2 separate regions of the Homo sapiens genome follow, and region 2 is linked to region 1. Evidence: promoter capture Hi-C in human tissues and cell types (Jung and others, 2019). All regions are on one chromosome and are shown on one strand. The core of a region is centred on a gene start or on the middle of the fragment in contact, and the rest is flanking DNA. Distances in the headings are between cores, read along the strand shown.

Evidence for each region. The method cuts DNA at HindIII sites, captures the fragments that hold promoters and counts their contacts. A contact is called where the count stands out against the background at its distance.
Region 2: a contact is called between a fragment that was not itself captured here and the fragment with the promoter of TRAIP in region 1, in 14 of the 25 tissues and cell types used here (H1 embryonic stem cells, IMR-90 fibroblasts, adrenal gland and 11 more).

The regions. Positions count from the first base shown.
Region 1 is chr3:49,854,935-49,858,082 of GRCh38, reverse strand. TRAIP (TRAF interacting protein) reads left to right here and starts at 1,519. Exons shown (of 15, transcript NM_005879.3): 1 at 1,519-1,727. The coding sequence starts at 1,630. CAMKV (CaM kinase like vesicle associated) reads left to right here. Exons shown (of 11, transcript NM_024046.5): 11 at 1-94. The HindIII fragment of the contact is 12,385 bases long and covers 1-3,148 here.
Region 2 is chr3:49,767,188-49,770,220 of GRCh38, reverse strand. All of the region lies in intron 1 of IP6K1 (inositol hexakisphosphate kinase 1), which reads left to right. Among named protein-coding and RNA genes, the nearest start is that of IP6K1, 18 kb to the left of the region's middle. The HindIII fragment of the contact is 9,567 bases long and covers 1-3,033 here.

The DNA.
Region 1 (3,148 bases), core at 270-2,769:
CCTGCATGCCTGTGGGTCTGCTCTGGTGTGTGAAGGTCGGTGGGTTAACTGTGTGCCTACTGAACCTGGCAAATAAACATCACCCTGCAAAGCCTCTGGCCACCCTCTCGCCTTTGCTTCCTCTGTCCTACTGGGGAGGAGCCCCTGGAAGGCAGTGGGGAAGGGAGAGGCTGGGAGCAGGTTCACAAGTAGTGGCTGGGAGTAGTAGTGAACAGTGCCCTGTGGATTTCTTGGGCTGAGGGTGAAGATCATCCTCACCACAGTGTATTCCTCAATGGTGGTGGTGGTGGGGGTCCTCTGAACTCTAGAAATCCATGTGAGTAGTGGGTCTTGGGCTGCATTTGGACCAAGGAATACTCCCTGGGCTGAGAGCTCAAGTAAGGGCTGCTGTTTTTGACTCCTGTTGACCGAGGAGCCTTACTCTTGATTTAGGCATAGAGCTGGAATCTACCTGGGCCAGCCACCGCAAGGACAGACCCTGCTCATAGCCAAAGATAGCTTCCCTGAGCTAGGGAGAGGGTGTAGGGTGAGCAATGCACAAAGATTCTATGCTGCTCTGTGTTGATTCCTTCTTTCTGTGAACACCTGTGCTTTCCACCTATGCCCCAAATGAAATCTCACTCTGGGTCTATTTCAGCTGGAGCAGATCAGCTTTATATTATGGGACTATGCACAGGGTTTCTTCTGGGTAGAGGGAGTAACACTGCCACAGATACTAAGCCTAAAAACCCAAAAGTTGACTTACTCCAGCCCAGGTGGGCCTGGGTGAACTCACCAGGGATGCTGCTCTCTGGGAGGACCTCAAAGATAACCTCCTCAAAGATAACTTCTCTGATGTGGGAATAATAAAAAGGATTTGTTAGTCTCTAGTCTTTGAAGCATCTGGGCCTCCAAAATTCCAACCCTACTACAGTCTCAAGCATAACTGATCCTCCTGAGAGCTAAGAGCTAAAGTCAGGGTACTGGCCCTAGTGTCTCCAAACTCAAGGATAGTCATATCTTACTTGGATGAAGCCAAGGTTGGCCTGGGGTGACCTGAGGGACTGGGGCCTATGTGTCCATCTTTCTAGAATCGCCCGGAACTGAGGACTGAGAGGGTAGGGTATTGTGGTCTATGGGAACTACAGACCATAGCGCATGGTCCATCACTGTCCAGAGCCCAAGGGACCCATCGGGACCATTGTTCTATTCCCTTGCGGCTGCGGTTTTCTCTGCCTTGGCCCAGCCTGCCTCGCGCCAGCTCTGGCATGGGACCACAATGCGCTGCCTTGCCCTGGAAAAGGGTCCAGCTGGCAGCCTCGCTGCTCCCCGCCTTGATATAATGCTGCGCTCTCAAGTGGCAGGTCGAGTCTCCCCAGAGGACGCCTGAGAGCGACCGCGCTCCGCCCAGGATTCTCTACGGCCTCGGGGCCGCTAAGCCCCGCCCATAGTTCCGCCCATCCGAGAATTTGTCCAATCCAGGCGAAGTATTCACGCTCCGCCCAAAGTTTTGTGTTGTCACTTCCGGCCCGCTCCAGGAAGTCGTGCTGCGGAGCCAAATTTGAAGCAAGCGGAGGCGCGGGGGCGCGTCTACGAAGCCGGACCTGTAGCAGTTTCTTTGGCTGCCTGGGCCCCTTGAGTCCAGCCATCATGCCTATCCGTGCTCTGTGCACTATCTGCTCCGACTTCTTCGATCACTCCCGCGACGTGGCCGCCATCCACTGCGGCCACACCTTCCACTTGCAGTGGTGAGTGACTGCAGTGTTGGGGCCCGGTGTTTGCCCGGGTACCGCTTCAGGGCCTTGAGGTGTTGGGCCTCCAGGCGGTCCAACCCCGGAATCCAGACAAGTGATGAGAACCTTCCTCCTAGACGAGGCCCCACGGGAGCTTCCCAACCTGGGCAGAAGTGGGTCAGGACAGGCTTTCTGGTAGAGGTGATAGCTGAGCTAAGCCTGAGGGGGACTAAGATGGCTCAGTGAAGATAGATGCTTCCTTGATCACCTATACAAACAGATGTGATTTCAAAACCGTTAGCCTGGGCAAGGGTGAGCTTTCACCACATCAACAAGTCCTTTTATTTCTTCCAGATAGAAACCTGCTAGGCTTCTGGCTACCCAAGAGAGTTTGCTGTGCCTTACTTGATGGTTTGGAATTATTCTACCCAGAGTCATCTCACTGTCCAGACACCCCAATGTATTCGCCATGTCAGCAAACCCGTTTAACATGGGGAAGGCAAGGAGATGCTCCCCTATCCAGGGGTCCTGCTGACCGTGTAGGGCCATTCTGTTGAGTGTACAGCTAGTGGGGAAAGATTCCCCTAGCAGATGTGGACAGGCCGGTTTGGACCTCCTAGCAAAAGAGATAAGGCAGCGTTACCCCTGGGAATGGTGGGTGATAATAATCACAGGGTCTTGTGGGGCTAAAGGCCCTAGGAAGCAGAAAGGCAGGCATGACACTGATGGCTGCTGGCTTACTTGCAAAGCTTTGTTTAGGCCTGTGTTGCTGACAGCCTGAGCCCCATGCTGAGGGAGCCACTGCTGTTTGGTTAGACTAGAAATTAAGCTCGCCTCTAAGCGTACTCTATTTTCTGTTTGCCTACTCTATTTTCTTCTATCCTTTTACTTTATTTATTTATTTTTATTTTATTTTATTTTTGAGATGGAGTCTCGCTCCTGTCGTGTAGGCTGGAGTGCAGTGGCGTGATCTCGGCTCACTGCAACCTCCACCTCCTGAGTTCAAGTGATTCTCCTTCCTCAGCCTCCCAAGTAGCTGACATTACAGGCGTGCGCCACCACGCCCAGCTAATTTTTGTGTTTTTCATAGACAGGGTTTCTCCATGTTGGCCAGGCTGGTCTCGAACTCCTGACTTCAGGTGATCCACCCACCTTGGCCTCTCAAAGTGCTAGGGCCTATCCTTTTACTTTAAACTTTTCTGTGTCCTTGTGTTTTACATGTATCCCTTGAAACAGCATTTATTTCTTTTTTTGTATATTAAAAAGTACTTTAGCTTACTGCAAAGATCTTTATTTTATTTTATTTTGAGACAGGGTCTCACTCTGTTACACAGGCTGCAGTGCAGTGGTGCCATCTCGGCTCACTGCAGCCTCTACCTCCTGGGCTAAGGTGATTCTCCCATCTTAGCCTCCCAAGTAGCTGGGACTACAGGCGC
Region 2 (3,033 bases), core at 386-2,885, 88 kb after region 1:
AAACAGTTATTACCTCAGTTTCTGAGGGCTAGGAATTCAGAAGTGGCCCAGGCTAGAGTGAAGTGGTGATCACAGCTTACTGCAGCCCTGGCCTCCTGGGCTTGAGTGATCCTCCCAACTCAGCCTCTCAAGCTGGAACTACAGGCATGCACCACCATGCAGGGCTAGTTTTTTCTATGTTTTGTAGAGATGTTGCCCAGGCTGGTTTTGAACTCCTGGGCTCAAGTGATCTTTCCCTGTTGGCCTCCCAAAGTGTTGGGATTATAGGCCTGAGCCACCATGCTTGGCTTAGAGGATCTGTTTTCAAGATGACTTATTCATAAAGCTCTTTGCAGGAAGCCTCAGTTCCATATTGTTTATCTCTACCCAGGGCTTTTGTTTGTTTGTTTTTAAATTTTCCCTACTTTAAAGCTAACAAGTTATACACAGGGCTCTTTGAGTTTCCTCATGGCGTGCAGTTATCTCCTACAGAAATGATCTAAGACAAAGTAAGGAAGAAACCATGAAGCCTCTTATGACCTAGTCATACACTGTCACTTCTGCCATATTCTTTTCATTAGAATGAGTCCCTAAGTCTAGCCTGTACTCAAGGAGAGAGGAGGATTTCACTTTTTAGAGGGAAGAATGTAAAAAAATTTGACATAGTTTAAAACTACCAAAATTTTCTCTCCCCATTGGTTTGCTTTGGTACTTTTGTCGAAAAACAATTGACTGTTATATCCTGATTTGTCGCTGGCAAAAATCCCAAAAACAATTGACTCTGTAGATATGGGCCTGTTTGTGAAATCTGTGTTCTGTTCCATTGATCTATTTGTTTATCCATATGCCAGTACCCCACTACTGTAGCTTTATAGGAAGTCTTGACATGAGGCAGTGTAAATAACCCAACTTTATTGTTTATCAAGATTTATTTGAATATTACAGTTTCTTTTTATTACCATATAAATTTTAGAATTAGCTTGTCAATTTCTGTAAAAAAGTCTCCTGCCATTATGGTTGAGATTCCACTGAATTTATAGATTCATTTGGGGAGAATTGACATCTTAACTATATTGAGCCTTCTAATCCATGTGCTGTGTGAGGCATATTTCTTGATTTATGCCTTCTTTACTATCTTGCTACATTATTTCATTGTTTTTAATGTAGAATTCTTTCACGTTTTGTTAAATTTGACCCAAGACATTTGATTTTTTTGATGCTATTGTAAATGAAATTTTTAAATTGTAGTAAATATACATGAGAAAATGTAGAATTTTAACTATTTTGAAGGGTATGATGCAGTGGCATTAAATACATTCACAATGATGTTTTGAGAACTACTTTCATCATCCCAAATAGGAACTCTCCCCATTATATAGTAACACCCCATTCTCACCTCCCCCAGCCCCTTGTACGTTCTTAATAATCTTTTTGTCTCAATGAATTCGCCTATTTTATTTTATTTTATTTTTGAGACTCAGTCTCACTCTGTCACCGAGGCTGGAGTGCAGTGGCCCAGTCTTGGCTCACTGCAGCCTCCGCCTCCCAGGTTTAAGTGATTCTCCTGCCTCAGCCTCTCAAGTAGCTGGGATTACAGGTGCCCGCCACCACGGCCGGCTAATTTTTGTATTTTTGGTAAAGATGGGGTTTCACCATGTTGGCCAGGTTGATCTCGAACTCCTGACCTCAAGTGATCCACCTGCCTCAGCCTCCCAAAATGCTGGAATTACAGGCTTAAGCAACTGTGCCCAGCCCTGTTTTATTTTATGTAAGTGGAATTATAATTATATAATTTTTTCCCTTTTGTGCCTGGCTTATTTCACTTAGCAAAATGTTTTCAAGATTCATCCATGTTGTGACATGCATCAGAATTTCATTCCTTTTTAAGGCTGAATAATATTTCACTGTATGTATATACCGCATATCTTTATCCATTTATCTGTTGATGGACATGGGTCGTAGACACCATTTGGTTATTGTGAATAATGCTGTGAACATTGGTGTATAAATATCTGTTTTGGATTCCTCCTTTCAGTTCTTTTGGGTATAGACCTAAAAGTGGAATTGTTGAATCATATGGTAATTCTATGTTTAACTTTTTGAGGAATTGCCATACTGTCTTCTTTACATTCTCACCAGCAGTGCACAAGTGTTACAATTTCTTCATATCCTTGCCAACACTTATTTTCTATTTTTTTTTTTTTTTTATAACTTGGATGTGAAGTAGTTTCTCATTGTGGCTTTGATTTGCATTTCCCTAATGACTAATGAAGTTGAGCATCTTTTTGCATATTTTTTGGCCATTTGTAAATCTTCAGAGAAATGTCTAAGGCCTTTGCCCATTTATGAATTGGGTTATTTTTGTTGTTGTCGAGTTATACAAGTACTTTATATGTTCCATGTATTAATCCTTTATCAGATGTATGATCTGCAGATATTTTCTGCTATTCTGTGGGTGATGTTTTCACTCTTTTTAAATTAATTAATCGGTTTTTTAGAATAGAGATGGGATCTCACTATATTGCTCAGGGTGGTCTCAAACTCTTGGGCTTAAGTGATCCACCTGCATCAGCCTCCCAAAGTGTTGAGATTACAGGTATGAGCCACTGTACCCAGACTAATTTTATTTTTTTAAGTTGTTGTTATTATTATTATTATTTTTTGAGATGGAGTCTCACTCTGTCACCTAGCCTGGAGTGCAGTGGCGTGATCTCTGCTCACCACAGTTTCCGCCTCCCGGTTCAAGTGATTCTCCTGTTTTAGCCCCCCGAGTACCTGGGATTACAGGCACGTGCCACCACAACTGGCTACTTTTTTGTATTTTTAGTAGAGATGGGGTTTCACCATGTTAGCCAGGCTTGTCTTGAACCCCTGACCTCAGGTGATCTGCCCACCTCGGCCTCCCAAAGTGTTGGGATTACAGGCGTGAGCCACCGCGCCTGGCCAATTATTATTATTTTTTAAGAGATAGGGTCTCATCCTGTCACCCAGGCTGGAATGAGTGATATGAATGTAGCTCACTGCAGCCTCAAACTCCTGGGCTTGAGTGACTGC